7 separate regions of the Homo sapiens genome follow, and regions 2, 3, 4, 5, 6 and 7 are each linked to region 1. The links are contacts of gene promoters, found by promoter capture Hi-C in blood cells and fetal thymus (Javierre and others, 2016). All regions are on one chromosome and are shown on one strand. Each heading gives the region's core, a stretch centred on a gene start or on the middle of the fragment in contact. The rest is flanking DNA. Distances are from core to core; before and after follow the strand shown. Region 1 holds the start of PKN2 (protein kinase N2). Region 2 overlaps SELENOF (selenoprotein F). Region 3 overlaps HS2ST1 (heparan sulfate 2-O-sulfotransferase 1). Region 4 has its middle 4.6 kb from the start of LMO4. Region 5 overlaps LMO4 (LIM domain only 4). Region 6 overlaps ZNF326 (zinc finger protein 326). Region 7 holds the start of LRRC8D (leucine rich repeat containing 8 VRAC subunit D).

Evidence for each region. The method cuts DNA at HindIII sites, captures the fragments that hold promoters and counts their contacts. A CHiCAGO score of 5 or more calls a contact.
Region 2: a contact is called between a fragment that was not itself captured here and the fragment with the promoter of PKN2 in region 1, in 1 of 17 cell types (activated CD4 T cells). The highest score is 6.3, in activated CD4 T cells.
Region 3: a fragment that was not itself captured here is called in contact with the fragment with the promoter of PKN2 in region 1 in 1 of 17 cell types (non-activated CD4 T cells); the score reaches 8.9 in non-activated CD4 T cells.
Region 4: a fragment that was not itself captured here is called in contact with the fragment with the promoter of PKN2 in region 1 in 1 of 17 cell types (total CD8 T cells); the score reaches 11.8 in total CD8 T cells.
Region 5: a fragment that was not itself captured here is called in contact with the fragment with the promoter of PKN2 in region 1 in 2 of 17 cell types (total CD4 T cells and non-activated CD4 T cells); the score reaches 7.8 in total CD4 T cells.
Region 6: a fragment that was not itself captured here is called in contact with the fragment with the promoter of PKN2 in region 1 in 1 of 17 cell types (activated CD4 T cells); the score reaches 5.7 in activated CD4 T cells.
Region 7: the fragment with the promoter of LRRC8D here is called in contact with the fragment with the promoter of PKN2 in region 1 in 1 of 17 cell types (neutrophils); the score reaches 6.8 in neutrophils.

What each region holds. Positions count from the first base shown.
Region 1 is chr1:88,682,509-88,685,896 of GRCh38, reverse strand. PKN2 (protein kinase N2) reads right to left here and starts at 1,624. Exons shown (of 22, transcript NM_006256.4): 1 at 1,269-1,624. The coding sequence starts at 1,316. PKN2-AS1 (PKN2 antisense RNA 1) reads left to right here and starts at 693. Exons shown (of 4, transcript NR_110682.1): 1 at 693-733. RefSeq lists enhancers at 1,350-1,429, 1,460-1,789. The HindIII fragment of the contact is 6,383 bases long and covers 1-3,388 here.
Region 2 is chr1:86,903,066-86,906,453 of GRCh38, reverse strand. SELENOF (selenoprotein F) reads left to right here. Exons shown (of 5, transcript NM_004261.5): 2 at 3,006-3,173. Among named protein-coding and RNA genes, the nearest start is that of SELENOF, 9.4 kb to the left of the region's middle. The HindIII fragment of the contact is 1,155 bases long and covers 997-2,151 here.
Region 3 is chr1:86,920,408-86,923,795 of GRCh38, reverse strand. The region is part of intron 1 of HS2ST1 (heparan sulfate 2-O-sulfotransferase 1); the gene reads right to left. Among named protein-coding and RNA genes, the nearest start is that of HS2ST1, 7.5 kb to the right of the region's middle. RefSeq lists a silencer at 98-276. The HindIII fragment of the contact is 2,489 bases long and covers 418-2,906 here.
Region 4 is chr1:87,322,565-87,325,952 of GRCh38, reverse strand. No RefSeq gene overlaps it. Among named protein-coding and RNA genes, the nearest start is that of LMO4, 4.6 kb to the left of the region's middle. The HindIII fragment of the contact is 2,031 bases long and covers 615-2,645 here.
Region 5 is chr1:87,338,437-87,341,824 of GRCh38, reverse strand. It overlaps LMO4 (LIM domain only 4), which reads right to left. Exons shown (of 5, transcript NM_006769.4): 3 at 2,193-2,289; 4 at 1,623-1,778. Among named protein-coding and RNA genes, the nearest start is that of LMO4, 11 kb to the right of the region's middle. The HindIII fragment of the contact is 250 bases long and covers 1,349-1,598 here.
Region 6 is chr1:90,004,980-90,008,367 of GRCh38, reverse strand. ZNF326 (zinc finger protein 326) reads right to left here. Exons shown (of 12, transcript NM_182976.4): 3 at 3,330-3,365; 4 at 3,124-3,235; 5 at 618-1,023. Among named protein-coding and RNA genes, the nearest start is that of ZNF326, 12 kb to the right of the region's middle. The HindIII fragment of the contact is 1,355 bases long and covers 1,065-2,419 here.
Region 7 is chr1:89,819,399-89,822,786 of GRCh38, reverse strand. It overlaps LRRC8D (leucine rich repeat containing 8 VRAC subunit D), which reads right to left and starts at 1,755. Exons shown (of 3, transcript NM_001134479.2): 1 at 1,496-1,755. It overlaps LRRC8D-DT (LRRC8D divergent transcript), which reads left to right and starts at 993. Exons shown (of 1, transcript NR_185885.1): 1 at 993-2,613. RefSeq lists silencers at 786-1,005, 877-1,086, 1,177-1,276, 1,377-1,726, 2,167-2,226. The HindIII fragment of the contact is 10,555 bases long and covers 1-3,388 here.

The DNA.
Region 1 (3,388 bases), core at 375-2,874:
GACTGCACAAGAAACCAAACTTATAAAGAGATTTCTTAAAAAGTATATTTAAACAAGAAATTTAGATGCAGTTGCAATACTTAATTTTGACATCAACTCTTCAGAATTTCTTGATTTAGTCTTTTTTTTAAAAAAAATTAACTGTCCAACACACAAAAAGAAATGCAGGCATGCTATTTTTTTCTCCTAATTCCCATCTACAATCTTTGAGTAGCTAAAAGATAACTATATTAAAATAAAGCAAAATAACTTTTAAGTCAAAAAACAAACATCTCTGGAACACTCCCAAGTAATGAAAAACCCGACAGGGTAGCTTAAGTCCCCATGTACACCATAGAGATCTAAAGAAAATCGTGCCTACATTATCAAATATTTATCTGGAAATGGGAAATAACATTGCTACTCGACATGACTTAACTAAGCGATCTACTTTGCTCTCATCTTTTGCAGACATGTGGTGCCCAATGTTTTCCCTTAGTCGACTGCTTTCTCATTAGTAAACAACTTATTAGCTCTTTCTCTGGTGCTCAAATGAGAGGGAAAATGAAAGTCTGAAAAGCATCAGCATCTGAGCTCCCGGATCTGGGCAGGGGTAGCAGAGAAAGGCACCCTGTATTTATCACTCGGTTAAAAAAAAAAAAAGAAAGGAAAAGAAAAGAAAAAGATAACCCTCAAAATAGAGGAAAGAAACTCTGTCACCTGAAGAGGGCTGCTGAAGTGAAGCAAACATTTGGTGAGACTCGTTTTTTAAAAAAACTTGTCTAGGGGCTGGAAGTTATGGGGGCGCTCTTTGTGCGGAGTCTGAGGGGAGGGGGAGGGACAAGAAAACAGCTTGGGAGTCATTCAAAGGAGTTTAAGGAGCGGTGTACGGAGGAAAGGCGGGGCGGGGCCCGGCCGCGCGAAGGGAGGGGGCAACAGGGGCGTTCGCGGGTAGCTCTGACACCGAGGGAGGGGGCGACGGGCCGGCCTCTCCGGGGACCAGGCGAGAGCAGGCTCCCGCTGCAGCAGGGCTGCAGAGATGGGGTCCCCTCTGGTAGGCAGAATCAAACCAAAGCGGTGGCAGGCCAGGGCTTTGGCGGGGGAGAGGGTCCGGCTCCCCAGGGAAGCGGTTCCCCGAGGGAAGCATTTCCCGAGTGACATCCCGGAGTTTCCGCACTTAGCGGGCTAGGGGCGCGGCGGCCGCAGGGCTTTCCTCGGTCCCCGACGCCGCGCGGGGCTCTCTCCCTGTCTCCTCCGCCAGCGCCTCTCACCAGGGCCGCGGCCCTTACCTGCAGTTCCGTGAGCAGAATCTCCCCCCGTTCGGGGTTGGACGCCATTGCGCTCCGGTATGGACTCCGCACCTGGACGCGGCCGCCTCTGGCGAAGGGAGAAGGCGGGACGGGGCTCGGGGTGGGGGTGAGGAGAGGGGAGAGAAAGAAAAAAAAAAAAACAACTAGGGATTCATGGAGGCGCAGCCCCTGCTGGAGGCGCGGCTTATTCCGTCCGGTTCATCGAGAGCGGCGGGGAGCTAGGGCACTCGTAGCGGGCTTCCTCTCGCCGCCCTCACCGGACTGTTCGTCTAGTCGCTCCCTCTGGGCGACGCCAGGAGCCGCCTCAAGCCTCTCCGTGCGGGCGCTGCGGCCGCGGCTGCAGCTCCTCCTGTCGCACCATTTGGCTGTCACCGCGTCGCAAAAGCGGCCTCACTTGGCGGCTGCCAGCACACGTGACGGCGGCAGCCACTGCCCCTCATCGGGCAGGGAAGGTGGGGCGGAGGGGTTCCCTAGGGCGAACGCGGCGAGGGGGCGGGGCGTCTTCCGACCCGACTCCGCGGCGAGGGCAGCCATTGGACTCGGCTGGGGTGAAAATGAGGGGAAAGGACTGGGCTCGAGTCTCTGGGGAGGCGGGAAGAGGAAGAAAACACACGCCTACTTTCCTGCTGCGTTTAACGGCTTCACTGTGAACGCTAGAACTCGGGAGCCTGCTCGCTGTTGTTTTTTCGGGTTTCGTTTTTTTTTTCTTTCTTTTTTTTTTTTCCCAGTTCCACCTTGCCGAAACTTGGGCCTAACTTTAACAGGCCCTTTTCTAACCTCCATAACCCAAAGAGCTTCGGGACTCAGATCTTACAGATTATTCCTCTGCTCTCCCCTTGACCCCCACGTCAACCCAAACTAATAATCTTGCCTTTTGCTCACCCTCAAACCCAGCCCCCAGCGCGCCTTCTCGACCAGTTAAGGTGCACAGCTAGCTAAACGGGTATGGTCTGTACTTTTCATGAAATGTAAGCGGCTGGATCCCTGGCAACTTTTAATGTACGGCCTTTAAGATGTCTTTTTCTTGAGGTTGAACTACTGTTGCTTGTACTGGAGAACTGTACAGAGCTGAGAATTAGCTGGGTTTTTTTGGGTTGTTTTAACTTTATTTAAGGGAGGGGGAGGTGGGACGGGATTACCCTCGGGAAAGGAAAAAAGCCACCTTTCCTTGGCGTGGTAAGCATTAAAGCTAACCTGACTACTTAGTAAAATATAGCTAAGTAAAGTAAATCTAGGTGTTTGTTTTTAATGACACTATGGTATTAAGGAATTTCGAAGTCTCCTACAGGTAGCTTTTGTTTTTGTTTTGTCTGAGCAGTGAATGGATAGGTAAACGCGTAACTTTTGATTTTTTGAAGCTGCGGTACAATACCTTTGTTAAAACTACCTGGAGAGAGTGGTAAGGGTTATTTAGGTACGTTGCTACTTAGAAAGGGCATTCGTTGACATATTTCTTAGGAAGTGTAACATTATGTACTTCTCACACGCTCCATGTAACTCTGTTGGCCTGATGCCAGGACTTAACGTCTATCCTTTTGCCTTCTCAAGTCTCATACATCAATTCAGCAAACATGTATTGAAGATCTGGAGTTCTGTGGCCACAGTTTCTGAACTCTAACTTATCATATGTGTGATAAAGAATTTTTCTGGTGTGTACTTCACAAGTCTTACAACTATTTATGTGTCTAGTATATTGCCTTGGTTGAAGATGATAATTAAATACATGAAAGAACACTTGGAAAGGCCGGGATATGATTACCTTTACTGGTAACTAAAAGCCAGATGGTTTCCTAGGCTTTGGAGTTACAGAAAGGATTAGGAGTTCTTATCCGGCCAGGCGCAGTGGTTCACGCCTTTAATCCCAGCACTTTGGAAGGCCAAGGCTGGCCGATCATCTGAGGTCGGGAGTTCGAGACCAGCCTGGCCAACTTGGTGAAACTGTCTCTACTAAGAATACAAAAACTAGCTGGGCGTGGTGGTGTGCGCCTGTAATCCCAGCTACTCGGGAGGCTGAGGCAGGGGAATTGCTTGAACCCAGGAGGTAGAGGTTGCAGTAAGAGTGAGACACTGCCTCAAAAAAAAAAAAAAAAAGGTACTTA
Region 2 (3,388 bases), core at 325-2,824, 1.8 Mb after region 1:
GAGGGAACATAGACCCCACTTCTCAGTGGAGGACTAACATTGTAAGAACATGTGAAATGATATGTACACATTGATGCAGCCTTTGATACATATTGATTGTCTTGTCTTTGGAAAACACAATCTGCTCATTGTTACATTTGATTTTCAAATTATCCTGTGAAATAAATGAGGCAGATCACTTTACTGATGGAGAAATTACCCAAAGTACTAGTATGGTAGCAAGTGTCTTATAGTTAAACTAGAGAGATCAAACACACAAATTAACCAATAAAGTCACAGTTCCCTCCCACTAGGCTGGGATGTCTCATCTGTTTTGAAAAATTATACATATGACATTATTACAGAGATAAGATTAAAGATGTATAAAATATCACGTCAGCATTTTGGGTGAATATGCCAACAAGTACTTAAATTTTCTTTTCATTGGGAAATGCCACTGGATATTAATCTACCTGGTGAGTTTAGAAAAGGATTGACACACTGCAGCTGGTGGGCCAAATTCAGTCAACCCAGTTTTTGTAGAACAAATTAACATAACAAAATGAAGCAAAGTTTCATTGGAACACAGACACATTCATTCATTCATGTGTTATCTGTGACTAGTTTTTGCACTGCCATGGCTGAGTTAGATAGTTGTACAGAAACCATATGGCCACAAAAGCCTAACAAAATTATCTGGCCCTTCACATAAAGTTTGCATACCCTTAGTCTAGAAGATCAGTCAGTTGCAGTCAATCTGAAATTTCCCCTACCTGACGCTATGGCTTTGTGCGATTTATTTATCCAACAGATATATGAAAACTGTCACAAGTGAGGGAAAGACAGAGAAACAACTTAATGCTTGCCTTCAGAAGAGTTCATAGTATTGTTGAGGAGTCAGATTTACATAGTACAGTGTCACGAACGGTACTGTTTTACAACTGTGCACAAGTTTCTCGGAGAAGAAAAGTACTCTGGCTAATGATTGAGATCTGATTTTTTTGGTCAGTGAAAGCTTCCTAAAAGACTAATACTGATTAGATTCTTGAAAATAAGTAAGATGTTACAAGGTGAAGAAGTGGAAACAGAACCTTAAATATAGGGGAGACTGTGAGCAAAAGTGTGTTTGAGTAGGGCTTTTATACTTCAAGATACTATAGGAATTCCTTATAGCAGGAGGAATTGAGGAAGTAATGAGAAGTAGCCTTGGCAGTGAGCATTTAAGCCACTGAGGCAGGAAAAGACTTGAGAGCTTTTTAAGAGAATTATAAAAATATATTAATTGGTTGTGAGAATGGTGAAGAATATGGAGTGTAGGTCAGTAGGATGACTGATCTGGGCAACTAGCTTGTCAGAGAAATGATGCCATTTTACTAAGATACTGAATACCTTAGGAAGAATAGATTTAAGAAAAATATAAGTTTCAGTGTTGCAGATTTTGAACTTGCAATGCATATTCAACACCTAAATGTGATATTGAGTGGACTGTTGGCTTTGGAAGCCTGACATTCAAGAAAAATACTTGAGAGTTTTCAATAAATGCATATCTGAAGCCATGGATAAATATGCAGTAATAAATAGAAGGCATGTAAAGCTAAGAGAGAGCCAAAAACAGAACTGTGGGAAACAATAGCATTTAAGAGATGCATAGAAGAGAAAAGTAAAGGAGGACAGGCCTTTGGACGGGGTAGTTGAAGCAGAACAGTTTTGAATGCCTTTGCATTTGGTAATTTTGGGCAAATTTTGTGGAGTAGTAGGAGCAGAAACCAGGCTATATTAATGAGTTTGGGGTGTTAGGAAAAAATAAAGATAATAGAAACCAAGTTATAGTAACAATTCAGAAATGACAGAACGTGGGAAGAGCAGTTAGGACCATAGGGCTTAAATATAGCTAAAGGTTGAAGTATTGATGAAATGAAGTATCTGTTAAGATAGAATCCAAAGAGGAAGTAGAGGGATTGGCCTTAGACAAATGGAGGTATACCACATTCACTGATAGGTAAAAAAGAATGGATGAGGGAAGGGAATATTGTTGAAAGCCTGCTTTTGTCAGCCATTCTGATTGATTAAATCATCTCTGATTTAATGTAACGATTTATGTAAGGTAACCATAGCAATCTGTTTTATGTAGGAAGTATTGCCCCTTAATTTATGAGTGAGGAAATTAAAGCTTAGGGAGGATAGTTTGCCCAGGGTCACGAATCTTGTAACTGGTGGCACTATTACCTAAAACCAAAAGTTTGAATTCTGGCGTGCTCTTGCCTGCACCATCCCCTTTCCCGTCCTTCTTCTGCTGGATGTGACTGTAGATAAACCCTACAGCTAATCTTACTCCATAGACCCATATGAACAGATGTTGAGTTCTTAAAATGAAACAAAAATTATTTTTTCTTATAAGAAAATTCCTTTTTAAAACAATAAATCTTTAAGAAAATATTTATGTGATAAACATCATGAACAATGATATGCCTTTTCTTCTTAATCCATATTTTAGCTAAGCTGAAAGATGATGGATGTTTAAGAAAAAAAGCTTGTAGGGGAGGTGGGAGAAACCAGACTATTACATAAGGTTACAGAGTTTAAGAAAGAATTTATTGCTGGGCGAGGTGGCTCATGCCTGTAATCCCAACACTTTGGGAAGCCAAGGTGGGCGGATCACGAGGTCAGGAGATCAAGACCATCGTGGCCCCCGTCTCTATTAAAAATACAAAAATTAGCTGGGCGTGGTGGCATGCGCCTGTAATCCCAGCTACTAGGGAGGCTGAGGCAGGAGAATCACTTGAACCCAGGTGGCAGAGGTTGCAGTGAGCCGAGGTTGCACCACTGCCCTCCAGCCTGGCGACAGCAAGACTCCGTCTCAAAAAAAAATAAAATTAAATTAAAATTTAAAAGAATTTATCTCCAAATGAAACATTTCAGTAACTTGTCTTCAATGTGTTAGTTTTTGACAACCCCGTGTTCTCTTTTTGGAAAGCTTTGTAGTATAAATATGGAATTGTGTTTTATTTCCCATTTTTTATTTTCAGGTGTCTGCTTTTGGGGCAGAGTTTTCATCGGAGGCATGCAGAGAGTTAGGCTTTTCTAGCAACTTGCTTTGCAGCTCTTGTGATCTTCTCGGACAGTTCAACCTGCTTCAGCTGGATCCTGATTGCAGAGGATGCTGTCAGGAGGAAGCACAATTTGAAACCAAAAAGGTACTGTTTTCTAGTATATTCCTTCCATTGGATGGTTTAGTTGAGATAAGGTAAAAATGTAAGTTGCTTAATCAATTTAAGTGTAAAAAAGCCTCTAAGCTTTTACATTTTTTAGTAAAACTCAACTGATTTCTTGTCTGGCCTATTAGTTCAATCAAAGCAAATATGAAGGAGAAGTATGGTTGCATACCAGGATCCCATTCCACCATGATTGT
Region 3 (3,388 bases), core at 413-2,912, 1.8 Mb after region 1:
GTGGGAGGTAACTGAATCATGGGGGCAAGTCTTTCCCATGCTGTTCCCATGATAGTGAATAAGTCTCAAAATATCTGATGGTTTTAAAAAGAGGCATTCCCGCCAGGCGAAGTGGCTCACACCTGTAATCCCAGCACTTTGGGAGGCCAAGGTGGGTGGATCATGAGGTCAGGAGATCAAGACCAGCCTGGCTAACACAGTGAAACCCCATCTCTACTAAAAATACAAAATATTGGCCAGGCGTGGTGGCAGGCACCTGTAGTCCCAGCTACTCGGGAGGCTGAGGCAGGAGAATGGCGTGAACCCAAGAGGCGGAGCTTGCAGTGAGCCGAGATTGCGCCACTGCACTCCAGCCTGGGTGACAGAGTAAGACTCTGTCTCAAAAAAAAAAAAAAAAGGCGTTCCCCTGCATAAGCTTTCTCATTTTTTGCCTGCCACCATAAGATGTGACTTGCTTCTCCTTGCCTTCTGCCACAGTTGTGAGGCTTCCCCAGCCATGTGAACTGTAAGTCCAATTAAGCCTCTTTCTTTTGTAAGTTACTCAGTCTCAGGGCGTCAAAACGGGCTAATACAGGATGTTAAGGAAAGAAATGATACATAATTTTTTAAAGACCTATATTAAACTTCTAGAAGGGCAGGGGGAGGAGTGGGAGGCAACGCCTGAGATAAAAAATAAACTGGGTAATATTAAAAGTGGATTACATACTGCAGAAGGATTGGTGAATTAAAGACCTAGCAGTAAAAACTATCTAAAACAACACACACACACACAAAAAGACTGAGAATGATGAATAGAACATCACTGAACTGTAGAACAATTTCATGTGGTCTAATGTAAGTGTATTTTGAGTTCCTGAGAGGAGAAGCAGCATAGAAAAACTAACGTGAAGAAATAATAGCCAAAAATGTTTAAATGTAATAAAAACTGTAAACTCACAGATCCAAGAAGCTCAACAAACCCCAGGCACAAGAAACATAATACAAGGGCACAAGAAACATAATTTAATAATTAAATAATTAAAAACCTAGTGAAACTCTTAAAAGTAGGCAAAAGAGGAAAAATAAAAGACACGCTACATATAGTTGAACAAAGAATGATGGCAACCTTCTCATCAGAAACAATGCAAGCCAGAAGACAATGAAGCAATATCTTTAAAGTACTGAAACAACAAAAATGTCAGCTTAGAATTCTATACCCAACAAAAATATCCTTCAAACACTATAGCAAATAAAGACTTTTTCAGACACACAAAATGAAAAGAATTCATCACCAGTATATTTTTAAGTGTAAGTAATGTTAAAAGAAATTCTTCAGAGTGAAAAAAATGGTACCACATGAAAATCTGCATACACACACACACACACACACACACACAAAATGAAGAACACTGGGAATGGTAAATATGTCAGCAAATTTTTAAAAAATTTTTAAACATTTTATATATTTTTAAAATATAAGTTAAAGCAAAAATAATAATGTATTGTAGGACTCATGTATAGAAGTAAAATGTATAATGACGATAGCAAGAACCCAGAAAAAAGTGGTAATATATTAAGGTTCTTATACTACACATGAAATTCTATCATGTATACCATAAACCCTTAAGCAACCACTTAAAAAAAAAACAACAACAAAGAGCACTGCTAGTAAGTCATCAAATTAAAAAATGGAATTTAAAAATACCCCTTTAATCCTAAAGACAACAGAAAAAAAGGAATCACAGAACAGTTAAGATAAACAGAAAACAAATAGCAACTCACGAATTTAAACCCAACCACATCAATAATCACATTAAGTGTTCTAAACATTCCATTAACAAAAGAGATTGTGAAATTAGATGAAAGATTAGATGCTGTCTACCAAAAATCCACTTTAAATATAAATACACAAGTAGGTTAATATTAACAGGATGGGAAAAGATATACCACCTGACACTAATCAAAAGAAAACTGAAGTGTCTGTATTAGTATTAGACAAAGTAAGTATCATAGTCCATTGTGTGGTACTATAACAAAATACCTGAGACTGGGTAATTTATAGAAAACAGAAATGTATTTCTTCACAGTTCTGGAAACTGAGAAGTCCAAAATCAAGACACCAGCATCTGTTGAGGGACTTCTTGTGGCATCCTCACATGGTTGGGGGTAGAAATGGCAAAAGGGGGACAAATGCTGTCTTCTTACGTAGAAAAAAGAGAACACACTGCCACAAGCTCTTTTATAACAGTATTAATACAGTTATGAGGGGAGAGCCCTCATCACCTAAACACCCTCCACCTCCCGCCCCAATACTGTTGCATCGGAGATTAAGTTTCCAACATGTGAATTTTGGGGGAGACATTAACACCACAGCAGTAGGTTTCAGAGCAAAGAATATTACCAAGGATAAAGATGGTATCTTGTATAAAAAAAAGGGTTGGTCCATCAAGAAGACATGACAGCCTAAATGTGCATATACTTAATCACAGCACTTCAAAATACATGAAGCAAAAAGTGACATAACTACAAGAAAAACAGACAAATCCACAATTATCAAAGATTTCAAAACCCCTCTCCATAACTGATGAAGAGGCAGAAAAAAATCAAGAATACAAAACACCATAACAATACTACCAACCGACATCTACAGCATACTTCAGCCAATAACAACAGAATACATATTTTTCACGTTCACCTGGAACATTTACCAAGATAGTTTTTTTTTATTTGTAATTGACAAAACTGTATATATTTATCATGTACAACATGTTTTAAAACATGTATATATCATGGATGGCTAAATCAAGCTAATTAAGACAACATGCATTACCTCACATACTTTTTTTTTTGGTATGGTGAAAACACTTAAAATCCACTCTCTTAGCAATTTTCAAGAATACATTGTGACAGGAGAATGAGGGAAAGCTTCGGGAACCATGTCTTTAGGTAAGTGAGGCAACAGAATCAGGTGCACAAATGACCGAACAGGAGCACTGACAGTTACCATCTATTGTTAACAGGCAGAAAGGCAGAATACGTAAGTACAGGTACTGGTAGGTGGGTAGATCTTAAAAATAACTAGGCTATAGTGAACCATGATTATGAAGTTCATCTATAAGTACATCCTTCAAAAATGGTCTTCTGGAGAGCAATCTTTGAACATTCATTATTATTTCAATTTCTCTAAGTGCCAAAAAGCTATTAGAAGGCCTACCAGAGTGGTGGACAGACATCCTGGAATTATCTTAATTGAGATCAACTATTTCAGGTGACTACTCCATGGCACTAGACATCCTATTCAAGACTAAGTGAGGCACCAATTACCAATTCTAGAATAACTGTATTCCTATTAACCCAAAGTCCTCAAAACAGTAGCTACTATGAGGTTTTCCAAATGATTTCAGAAGTG
Region 4 (3,388 bases), core at 381-2,880, 1.4 Mb after region 1:
AAACAGTGCATAAAGTAATATTCCTGGTATGAAGTAAAATTGCCTAACTCGAAATAATGTTATATTGTGCCCCACAGTTGACGAAACCTCTGCTGATATCACACATTCATCATTCATCCTACTCATCTGCAATGAGATATAAGATTAGGGGGCTTTGGAAAAGAAAGATAAATGTAAATCGTTTCTTTCTTGAATCCTAATTAAATGTGGGAACCATACTGCTCCTAGATCAAGCCGTCATTTTCTCCACTTGCCCCAAAATTATTTGTTCATAGCTTCCTTTCTCGTTTATGTCCTTCAATCATAATCATTCTTTTCTCCAAGTGACAGTTCGCTAAGAATCTCCCATGGACAGCCAGAGGTTCTACACAGACCTATGCAGCCTTTAATGTCTGGAGAAAGTCTAGGCTATTTGATGCTGATATGACCTCCAAGACAACATGCCCCAGCTCTTTCTCAGGAAAAAATATTCTGTCCTTTTAAAGTCAATGCAAAACCGTTTTTGAAGAAAGTCTTTTTAGGAAGGAAAATTTTTAAAAATCTGCTCAACTTTATTGCTGCCATCACAGAGATCCCTTGATATTCAGTTTCCTCCAACGTGAATACAAAAAGCTTGAGTCTAGGACAACAATTCCAGAGTGTAAAAGGTGTGGAGAGAAAAGGGAACAGTAGTTACCAACAGAAAAAACCCAAGGAAGAGGAAGGGCAGGTTAGGTCCTGGGCCAGTTTTCTGTGGTGGCGTTGTCGTCTGAGCAGCAGGGTGTATGGCACAGTAAGTATAGTCGGACCTGCTGCTTCATTTAAGAATAGGAGTTTACAGGCCCAGTGGCCCACGCCTATAATCCCTGCACTTTGGGAGGCCGAGGCAGGTGAATCCCTTGAGTTCAAGACCATCCTGGGCACCATGGCAAAACTCCATCTCTACTAAAAATACAAAACTTTAGCTGGGTGTGGTGACATGTGCCTGTAGTCCCAGCTGCTGGGGATGCTGAGGTGGGAGGATCACCTGAGCCCTGGAAGTTGAGGCTGCAGTGAGCCATGATTGTGCCACAGCACTCTAACCTGGGAAATGGGAGTGAGGCCCTGTCGCAAAATAATAATAATAATAAGAGTTTACCTAGAACTCAACATCTCGAAAAGCCTATATTTCACGGAACCATATCTTGGCTTTAAAATATTGATAATATTTAATAATACTTTGAATTTACTGACTGCCTTTTTAGTCTTTCTCAAAATTCTTTATAAATATCTCACTAAATGTTTCATGTGATAAATGTTTCTAATAATTGCCTTATTAGAATATTATTGTTTGTTTTTTGTTAAAGCAATCCAGATGACTACGTTGGGTAAGTATCCCACCAAATTATGTTAATCAATATTTAGGAAGTTCTACCCTAACTACTCTTTTTAAGGTAATAAACAAGCATAGTGAAGAAGTTGATTTTATGGCAAGAAAATAACAGATCACTGAGGAAAAGGAAACAGCATTGACATTGTTGTGACTGGAAATATAATTTAAGATGTAGATTTTGATTTTAATTATTCTATTTGATTAAGGTATTTGAAACTCCTAGAGTTGATAGAAAGGTGAAAAAGATAATAGGAAAGAAGAAAACACCTCTGTGACCCAGCATTTTGCCTGATGTAGCAAGGCTACTTTAAAATAGTGTCGTGAAATTACTCATTGTCTTCGTAAAAGTTTATTAGCATAGCAACAGAACAGTACAAATCCCCCAAATTTGCCTCAGAACTATCAGCAAATCTTTTTTTTTTCTTTTTTTTTTGAGACAAGGTCTTGGATGGGTCACAGGCTAAAGGCTCACTGCAGCCTCAAACTTTGAGCTCAAGCCATCCTCCCACCTCCTTAGCCCCCTCACCCCTACCCCAGTAGCTGGGACTGCAGGTGCATACCACCACGCCCAGCTAATTTTTTTTGGTAGAGACAGGGGTCTCACTGGTTGCCCAGGCTAGTCTTGAACTCCTGGCCTCTGGGGATCCTCCCACCTCAGCCTCTCAAAGTGCTGGGATGACAGATGTGAGCCATTGTGCTCAGCCCAGCAAATCTTGATATGTGAATCTGTTTCATGGCAATGATACCATAGAAAAAATTGTTTGGCTTACTCATACTACCTATTTCTAAGCCTGAATTCTGTCAACAATATTCAATCACAGTGATATTCTGCATCTATCATTGCAAATAAATTATCAGACTATATGTGTGAGTGTATTATATGTTCATTAAGGTCTTTTAAATGGTCTAGTGGGTCAATAGCTACTGCTTATTAAAGTCAAGTCTTTGCATGGATAGATTTAATTTCATAATAGTTACAAAAGAGGGTATATAGATGACTGGGCCACTTGTATATATGTGAGGTGGTTATTACTAAGAATATATGTTGAAGTTATAAATCCAGCAGAAAATAGCAATTCTGTTTAAAATTAATTACTGTTTCTCTCCAAGACGATGGAAATGAGCACTTACTGATAGAGAAACTAAGGCATTAAGATGTAATTCGTTCTCCCTTATGTTCCCACTAACTCTTCTTGGTAAAAGAAAGGCTACTAATTCAGAAATTTTAAGGGCCCAAAACCATAATTTCTTTTGTTAGTGTCAGTTTTAATTCTAGTGTTGATATAATTAAGCTTTTTCTCTGTGTGGATTTGTAATAAGATGTATTTTAAAGTATAACATTGGTTTCTATTTGTTCACTAAAAAAGTTGATGAAAATATGATAATATTTATTCATCCAATTGTAATGAATGACTCTGTTGGAATTATGGAAGTACAATCCATAGCTGTCCTTGGACTTGGAAAGCACGCATTTCTTCTCTATACAGCACCATAAATTTTTTAGAATAAAAAGAACAACCAGATATGGATTTTTTTAAATAATAAAATTGAATAACTCAATTGACTAAAATGTGTTCCCACCACACAGAGGTACACATTATAACATCATCATTTATATTTCTCAACATAAATCAAATTTCATAATAAAATTGTTTTTGATGAATCACCACTTCTTTTCTAGCTTCAAAACATTCTGACAGAGAAAGCAAATTTGTCAATTTCTCTGTGTGATAAGAAATCACTGAAAATATATTTAAGACCTTTAGTCTAAGATAATAATTTTTTTGAAAGTTTCATTTAAAAGGAAAACATTCAAGGGAAGCCATTTTCAAATTTGGAGAAATAACTGAAGAATAAAATAGACTTTCTTTTCAGCATTTTTTTTCAATGCCATCTGCTATACTCTCTGACAATAAGGCCAGGAGAAGTCATTACAGAACAATACTCTGGAAACAATTTGCCTCAAAAAAGAATGAAAACTTAAACAACACTACCTTCATACATGTTTGCTCTAATTACAGCATTAAAACACCCAAG
Region 5 (3,388 bases), core at 224-2,723, 1.3 Mb after region 1:
AAGCTTGAAATACCTCATCAGCAGTGACTGGTTAGTTTGCAATTAAAAAGTTCAACTTTTATTCTTAAAATGGTTATTCTATGTAGCTCCCCATATTAGTAAATTAAAGTGCACATAATGTCATGTAATTAACACTAAGAAACAGAACATACATTTAAAATTACCTCATAAACTTGAGCAAGGGAAAAGGGCAAATATAAGCATCAAAATATGGCAGCATAATTTTAATGGTTAAAAGTTTTCAAATATTTGTCAAACCCCCACCTCCACCACCGCACTAAGAAAATGCATTACAGAAGACAAAAAAGTCTATTTTTTTCCCCGAGATTTTTGAAGCTTGCTAAATTCCTATTTGCAGATAAATGTTGTTTTTTTTGTGATCCTTACAACAGACATTAATGAAGTTCCTATTGTAAATCCATAAAGAATTACCAAGTGAAGTGTGCACTTTTTGTTTCAATGCAATAACTCAGTGCTGTGTGATTGCCTGGGTTAATGATGAAAAAGTCAAACATACTATCAGAGCTGATGGAAAAATCTATCACCAATCTGAAATTAAAATTCATCTGTGGTCAATAAGATTTAATATCCATGCAAGTGGCGCTGTAAAGAGTAAATGAATCAATGTCATCAATACATAATCAGTATGAAATATGATGTGAATAAAATTATGCACACGAGTCATACATTTCACTCTTTTCTGGGCCGGTGTGGAATGAACAGTCTCTTAACTGAAGGTTGACAGTAATTGTTACAAATTAGGCACAGCAGTTATCAAAATGCACTCACTTGCATAGCTATAGGACTTATTAAGGAGATTAAAATAGATCTAAAACTATCCAGTACTGGGGGTGCTGGACAACTGTTGATCACCAATTTTCCCTCTGGAATATCTTCTAATACTACATGATTTGTATACTTGTATAATTTCCTAATTTTTAATTCTGGTACAAGGATTTTCAAGTTGTGGATCAAGAATCAAGATACATAATTTCTAATGGCACTATTAATGGCACTAAGCGGGTTAGCAAGAACAAGAACTTGGTTTTAAAAGCCATAACTTATTCAAATGTTATGGTACCGCCAATGAACAAAAATGCCCTCTTATGAAGTTACAGAATGTTTTGTAAAATTACTCTTCTAAAAAGTAAATGAATTGTAAATTGGGTTTGGAAGGCAGGTGTCCAGATTGCTATTCCTAACGCAGAAATCATTCTTTCATAACAAAGATCTTTATTCTCTTTTCCTACCATAAATGTTCTAATTTTTCTTCCACAATAACCTATCACATCATGTTTCTGAATTTCAAAATTGTCAAATGGAATAAATAACCAGTTATATGGAAGCTTTACATTTTGTTTGCTTTTGCATGTGATAATCTTATGTTCAACGTGAGTGAAGCTACAGATATAACAAAGTCAGGATTTTTTTTTTAACTAGAAAGGATTCACAATTTAATCAGCTATCCTACTTCTGAACACTCTATGTACAACTAGTAATCTACATTTCTTTAAAAGGGCATGCAAAAATACAACCACCCAAGAAAACTCTCTTGCTAGGTTAAGAGGTTGAACCTTCCAACTTGCTCTAATAAAGCTTATTAGTAATTGCTGGGTATTCACCTTCTGGTCTGGCAGTAGTGGATTGCTCTGAAGTGAATTCAAATGGCCATTGATGAGAGCTGTAGGTCTATCATGTTCACAAAATAAACTGCCATTGATGTAGTGAAACCGATCTCCCGGGACCAGGCGATTCCGGCAGGTAGAGCATGTAAAACACTGAAAGGGAAAAACAAACCCACTGAAAACAAGGTAAAAATTAAGTCTTTTTTTGGTCACAAGTTTATAACCTGTTATTAAGCAGGTATCTGTCAAGTACAGAGACACTTAGGGTTTAGCGTTTTTTCTTCCTTTGACAGATCTCCAGAAAACAGTAAGCCAAATTGCTATCAACTGGACCAGGCTAAATGGGGACAAATCCAAATACATGTGTACTTCTGTCTGTGGCATAGGGGAAGCGTGGTCTGTGCATGTGGATGTGTAACCATCACTGCCATGCTACAATTTCAATCATTCCTTCAAGTGTCTGCAGCTTGAGAAAACAGTTCATACCAAGGAGAAATGCTTTGCCCCCATGTAGGTAGGAAAGGTATGATTTTTTTTTTAAAAAAAAAAGAGAGATGCAAATACTACCTTAAGATGATACACATTGCCTTGCGCCCTCATGACGAGTTCACTCGCAGGAATCGACTGTCCGCAAGCGCTGCAAGCACCGCTATTTCCAAATAACCTGAAACAAAGAATAACGGTTGACACCAGTGAATAATCCTAAACCAAAGAAAAAGAAAGAAAAACACCCCCAGACTCTGGGCATCCCTTTGGAATGCATTTGACAGGCTGAATTCTTAGGCTCAAGCCTCAGATTTTCTGAGTGATTTACATAATCTGGGAAAAATCCTTTTTGTGGGACAACAAACTTCTGCCTACCGCAGAGGATGCCCCAGATTTAATCAAAATATTGACTTACACCTCTAGCAAATACAATTCTGTTCTACACACATTTTATCAGATTACTAGGTTCATCATAAAAAAAAAAAAGATACAATTCATGACTGGAGTTTAAATGCATTGTGTCCTTGAAATTATATGAAGAACTCTTTTGTACTTTAATCATATCTTCAGATATGAGTCATCAAAAGGGTTAAGAGGATTTGATTGTATATCTAAGAAGACATCATGCTCAGTGTATTGAAACTCCCGTAAACCTCCATCAGTGCAGACTTTCCATTAGAAACTCTCTGCTATCCAGGTTGATATATAATGTGTATGGGTTAACCTTTTCAATCATGGTGTCAACACTTAAGATTTGCCTCTGCTCATCTCTTTCATCCTAACCTTCTCTCTCTCTTGATAATGAAATGCTTGCTCCAACTTCCCTCTATCTGCTCCTGAGTCCACAATTTAGATTACTTCATCTCTGCTAGCAACAAACTGAATGAAATTTCGATTTGAGCAGAAAGTAATTTACCGGGATCTGGACCCATTTGTCATCATATCTCTCTGGGTGTTTGCTGTATCACTGCAGTTTTCCTATGCAATCAAATGAGACCACAACATCTGCCATGGGGGGAGGAGGGGGAGAAGGAAAAGGCTGCAGAGGAGGGGAAAGCTCAAGGAATTGTGGTGTACTGAAGAAAAACATATACATAATTCCTTACATCCTTCTGCAAGCACAACAAAATATTTTAATAACCACCGAACTTGGGCTTTTATGCAATCTGTAGACTCAACCTGGGAAGCTTTATTTGCTTTTGGGCTTCCCTCTTTAATATCCACAAATATTTATTAAACAGACCAAAATGATTTCACATTGAAAGGTGGTGTCGGAA
Region 6 (3,388 bases), core at 493-2,992, 1.3 Mb before region 1:
GGAAAATAAAACAACCAGCAACTGGACATATTGTAAGCGTGAGTTAGCAAAATTACACTGACCACAAATCATTGTACAATCTATTATACACATCAACTTCTTCACCACATAAACATGGCTAAGCTATCCTGATCTATCATCAACTTTTAGTCTCCTGTGTTTAATGTGAAACATGGAGCTTTGAAGAAATTCTACTTGCTAGAGTTTAGCCACAAAGTATAAACATTTTATCATACATTGCACCTTTAACCTACTCAAAAACTCAAAAAGGGTTCAGTGACCTTTCACAATAATCCACAAACTATTCCACCAGCAAAACTGCTAGTGTTTACAAGGAAAATGCAACTCCTTTTAACCCCTTTTAGACCAAACCAGTAGCCTCACCTTTTTAATAAAGGGAGATTTGGCACAACTTTATGATCATCTCAAACTGCCACTTATTTTCTGAGGTGCTAGAAAAACTTTTACAGTCAACCTAAAAATTATGTTTATGACTCAGCTTTTGCTTCAAAATACACCGGGATGAACAGTGTTTATTCTAGTTGAAAACGATGGTCTTGAAAGGGTTTAAAAGAGTGACTAGTGAAAAGAATCTGAAAAGATTCTGTTGTACTTACTCCTCGGCCTCGGCCTCTGCCTGTTGATGGTCCTCCAAAAGCATCATAGTTTCTGCTTCCAAACGTACTTTCAGGATAAGCAGGCGTTCCTCTCCCCCGAGAGCCTACAGGTGCAGGCTTCATATGGGGTGAAGAAAAACTGCTGTAGGAAGAGTAATTCTCTCTTCCTCTGTCCTCCATAAACCCAGGCCTCAATTTTGAACGGGAGTAAGGTGCTTCCCAGCTAGACCCGCCCTGGTTTCTACCTCCGAAAGAGTCAAGGCTATTCCGGTAGGAGCTCTCAAATCGACCACCATAACTACCTCCGAAGCGGCTTTGTTCGGGTTCATTAAAACCATAGCCAGATCTGTACAGATCTCGCCCACCCAGAGAAGACCTGGAGTCGTAAGACTCATAAGGTCCAAACCTGGAAAAGTTGCACAGTGAGGGAAAAAACAAAAGTAAGCTTACTAATGTTAGACAATTCAAAAGACAAATTATCAGATGACATTTATCAACTAAAATTCATTTATACCATACTGGTTTGCACAGTTCTACTTTTGTTCACATTTGATTAGGGCTGGGCAGTTCAACGTGAGACCAGATAGAAAGCTATCTGAGTCAGATTATAAATATGAATTGAGTTTAGTAAAACTTAGCTTTAAAATCTGCTTCTTAGCAGCTTTTCTATTTTATGAAGAAGAAAAGATTTGTCTGTCATTATTTAAGCCCAGCCCTAGTCTTGGAAAAGGTCATTTGCTAAAGTTCACAAACTATTCAAACTTTTTTGAATCTATCCCTAATATTAAAAATTACAAAACATTTACAATATTTTGGCTTTCAATAGGGACACAAATTGAAGTCTACTTAGATGTAGGTTATTTGTGACACAGAGAGATCCTTTTGCACTCCCAATAATCTATATCACAAACTGCTTCATTGTGTCTGTAGGAGTCAAAATTTGGGGAATTATCTCTGGTTATAAAAATTTAACAATCTGCCAAACTTCAGCCAAGGTCAATTAATCAATCCTCAATCACTTTTTACTTGTAGACTAGAAAATCTAACAAATCTAGAAGGATAAACAGATAAAACATAAAAGATCACCAACATATACCCTCTGCATATGAATTTTCAAGGCAGATGAGAAAGAATACATCTTATAATATATTCAATTATTTGCAAAATTATTTCCTTCAGGAAATTATCACATAAAACTACCCTAAAAAAGGGAGCACACAGTCTCCTCGAGGTTTTAAGAGAGTTAACAGAAGAAATAAATCATCTTCCTTCTCACAAACCCAAAGCATGGATTACAAAAGTTGCTTGATATCTTACAACACAATTTTATAAAGGCCCACAATTACACATGAGATAAAACAATAACATCTACGGATATAGCTTATGCACATTACATTCACAATATAAAAGGGCAATAACTGACATATTAAAACATTAAGTGTTACATTACTTCAATTATTTACAGATCACTAAATAGATTTACTTCTGAATCCTAGTAACCATATAAAAATTATTCCTATTTCCAACTACATTTTTCAAAACATCTATCACATAAGCAAAATAGTTGCAACTGTTCACTTTCTTAATTTTTCTTTACTATAAACCATAGTGGTACACTGGAAGCAGAAAGAAGGAAAGTAAGCATCATTCAGTCCATCATTAAGGAATCCGGATCCTTCAATTTATGCAGAAGGATGACTGTTTCACATGTCTACTAACTAGTTTTACTTATATTCAGCAGGAACCTTTGTGCCTCAAAAAGTAGACACCCCTTCTCCTGAAATATGGTCAACCTTAAAGCTTGTAGTTGTTTAAGTAGGTTTAAGCTTTATACAGTAGTAACAGGAAAATATAAATACAATCTCGACTAGTCAAAGGTATAGTATTCATGGCTTTAATACAATGCTTCTAGCCTAGAGCACAAGTGCTTTGGTGTAAGTAGTACCTGTCAATAAATAACCTGAACATAATTTTAAAAATATTTTTATTATTGCAATATGCTCTTCCTTTAAAATTAGAATTAAAGGAATATGTCCTGAATGTTTCTTGGAAAGTAAATGTTAGACTGGTTCAGTAAAATCCATTCTAGTTAGACTGCTTTGCTAATTTACATAGCACCCCACATTAGAAAAGATTTTTTTTAATTATTAAGAAAAAGCTTCATAAATAATATTTTCAATAACATTTTTATATCATTTTTCAGGATACTTTGATTGACAAGAAGTTAAAAGTAAAAGAATTTTTTAAAAGTTCACTGCTAAAAAGTGTATCTTACTCTATTATATTGACATGATATAGTTATCTGGTGTTTTCCTAAAATAACGTCTGCCAGTAATACTGATTTAAATTTTATACCCATTAATTAACACCTTTAAATATTTAAGGTGATGATTCAATAGCAAACAGTGAAGTTCAAGTATCATAACATGCCTAAAGAGTACTTAAAATAATATATCCAAAATCTTATAGTTGTCTAATTATTTGGCCAAATGATTAAGCAATTTACCTGCTACCCCCACCACCACCACTGTGATTGTCCATGCCATATGACTGGTTTAGGTAGGAATCCATGGATCTCTGACCCCCATAGGATCCATGGCCATAGTCACGATCCATCCCTATAAGAGTTTAAAAAGAAAAAAGTTATATGATGCTCACCTTTACTGGCACTCAAAAGAAGAATTTTTAGATAAATATCCTTGAATGTCAGACCTCCATAAGATCCAGGGCCATAATCACGATCCATTCCTAAAAGAGAGTCAATAAGAAAT
Region 7 (3,388 bases), core at 506-3,005, 1.1 Mb before region 1:
CTGAGGACCCCATTTACAGGATATGGTGCAGGGTTCTTCCCACAGGTCTGTAAGAAGCAGAGGTCCCAGATGCTATGGCGAGGAAGGTCTGATCACTCTCATTCTTGGCACTGGGAGGGGCCCCTTATTTGTTTATAAGGTAGACAGCCCTCATCATTACTGCAAACGGGGATTCCCTGCCTGTCCAGACTCTTCCAAAGTCCGGTACAAACCACGTAATAGGTGCTCAATAAACGCTGCCTGTACGGAATTTTACTATCAAAGCTGCCAAGGAAAGTTTCCAGAAATCAGCTCTTCCAAAATATGTCCTCAGAGTTTTCTTTGTCCAACAAAAAAATATTTTTGAAGATCCAAGAGCAGGAAATCTGCGAGGCAACGAGGAGCCAAATATAAGCCAAGCGGCTCCAGCTGGGCCCCACATTCCGCTAGGACTCCCCAGTACCTATTCCCCATCTCTCCGCCTACATCCTGAGTGCGCCCTCCCTCTCATCTCGGCTGTTTCCTTCCCACAACCCTACCTCCATACTTTCGGCCACACACACCCCAAGTGCGTGCTCCTGGAACCTCACAGCCCACCTCTCCCTCTCCAGCAAGGACCTACCTCTCTTCCCCTCGACCTGCAGCAGTTCTTCTTCACTGCAGCTGGCTTTTTAAGAAATCAAAAAATCTCATTTATCTGCAAGGGATACCCCCTAGTAAAGGGTGACGGAAAGGAGAAGGCCCCTATCAACCCTCCAGTAACTGGAGGTGCTGGTCCTCCCGGCAACCACCCCCAATTCTCCTCCTTTTCAAGCCCCTGGACAGGATTTGAGCAGAAGTCCCGCTCCCAAGAGCCCACGCCTCCAAACAAGCTAGAAGCGGATTATACCGGTACCCAACCCGGAGACGGCCCGCGGACGGCTGGGTGCACCTGCGGGCCCCCAGCTCCCTCCCACAGGCGCGGGGGGCGGGGCGCGGGCCTTCACCTCCCCGCCCCCGCCCGCCGGGCTCCCAGCGCAGCCCACCCTGCACAGGAAGGAAGCGGAGGGGAGGCGATTCTGGAGAAGTTAAAGGGCTCACCTTTGGACGCCGGGCCAGCAAGGCCAGACACCAAACACCCACCTCCGGGAGGAACCAGCAGAGCCGAAACCGGCTCTCCCCGCCTTTCCGATAGGGCGGAGGGAGGTGAGAGAAGGGAGCGCGCGCGAGGGGTTCAGGAGCCAGGAAGCCGCACTCCCCTCCCGCAGGGCCGGCCGCCCGGGGCCGAAGCGGCCGACGCTCAGACTGCAGAAAGCGGAACAATCTCCCAGGCCCTGGCGGCAGCAAACGGGAGCCCACTCCGCTCGCCGCCACCTCCTCCCGACCCCCGGACGTCCCCGAATGAGTTCCCGGCCGCAACCGCAGCTCGGGCCGCGGCGCCTGCGCCAGGGTTGCGCGCTCCGGCTCGGCGCGGCTCCACCTGCGCGTCGCCTTCCCTCGCAGCCCCCGGCCCCTGCCGGGAGAGGTGCGCACCAACCTTGGGGTGCAGCTCGGCCGCCAAGCCACGGCTTATGCTGAGGCCGGAGGTGGCGGCATCACCCGCGGCGGGCGGCGGCTGCACCGGGACGCGCCGGGGCGGCGAAGGCGCGCTGCACCCTGGACCCTGCTCCCGCGGCCCCGCCCGCGGCTGCCACCTCGAAGCGCGGCGGAGGAGCCGGGGCACCACGGGCGGCGGCAGCGGCAGCGGCAGCAGCGGCGACGGGAGCAGCAGCACATGACTCTGTAACGAGGGGAATTAGACAAAGCGTAACATGGACTCCGGGCCCGTGCAGGCGCTGCAGCTCTGGGACCAACCGCAGCCGGCGAGTGCCGCGACTGGCCCGGCCGCAGCCAATGGGGCGGGCCCGGGCCTCCATGTGATTGCGAGCGCTTTCTCCGGTGGCCCTGCAGCGCCTGACCGGACGGGGTCTGTGTGGCGAGGGAGGGGACCCGGGGTTGGAGACTGGCGGCGAGCGACTGCTAGATGCGGAGCAGGTGCTTGGGAGGGGAAGAACGGCAGCCTACATAACCATCGCCGTAATGCTCTCGCAAGCGTCCACCTGGGCAGGGCTCGGTGCCGGGCAGGCGCAGCTGCCAGTTAGCTGCGAGGCATGGTCAGGAGCCTTCACCCGTCCTGGGCGAAGGAGGCTGTCCCGTCGACTAAAACTCTGATATTAAGACTTGGCGCTGGGGGTGGGGAGTTGAATTACGTTAAAAAGTCACTTAAGTGCCTTCCAACTCTAAGGAGAAGTACTTATCTGAGCTTTGGGGCACACACAACTACTACTTGGCATGGAGAGTTTCTCAGCTTCATGTGTTCCGTCTGTTATTGAAGCTGTATTGGAAAGTCGGTTCTTGTTTTTATCTGAGCCCGCCGTTTTCATCCCATTCTTTTCGTCAAAAATATGTTACATCTGAAAGAGGCAGATGAAAAGATTATTCTATGCTAAGAGGGTTTTGCAGCCCGATAATGTCACCGTTTTTTGTTGTTGTTGTTGTAGGATCGGGGTTCATTTGCAGTCTTTTTTGTGGGTGAGCAGAGGCAGGGGCCAATAAATAAATTAAGGCGGGATATTTGGAGTTATTTGGTTGTAATAAAATATGTGGTTCAACCCAGTGCTTTCATATCTTCTTTTATCTGAATCCATGTGTTTCTGTAAACCATCGGAAGTCTAATCTGTCTTCTACCAATATCTCTCCATGTCAGCAAATGTTCAATCAACGTTTACCCAGCATCTAAATATTCTTAATAAGCATGCTGCACAAATGTTACAGGTACTCAGGAAGGTGTCGGTTCAGAGACAGTGAGACATTAAAGAGAATGATTGTCCAGGGTTTCAGAAAAGGATTCAGAGAGGAGCTGATAGAATTGACCCTTGGATGGTGAGCACTTGGCCCTCAGGCATTGGACGTGAAGAAGAGCAGCCCAAACAGGAACATGAACAGAGAGGTCCAGAATACACTCAAGGGACTGCCCGAGACCCGTTACAAGATGCCACCAGATTCTGAGCCCTCGGCCCTTTTGCTCTCACTTTCCTTCCCCGACCCTCCTTGCCAGCAGCCACTCCTGTTCCACACACTGCCAAGAAGGAGGTGTATGGGCAGGGAGTGTGTGTAAGTGATCTAATCAGTGTCAGATTTGCTGATCTAAGAGATGAGAGGTCTTTTAAAACTTAACAACTAGTGGTGTGATATTTTTATTGAAAACAGCCCACTATTATAATGAATATGGAATGTTTTGCTGTTTGTAAAAAAAAAAAAAAATTATAGGCCGGGTGCAGTGGCTCACGCCTGTAGTCCCGGTACCTTGGGAGGCCGAGGCAAGAGGATCACGAGGTCAGGAGTTAGAGACCAGCCTGACCAACATGGTGAAAACCCGTCTCTACTAAAG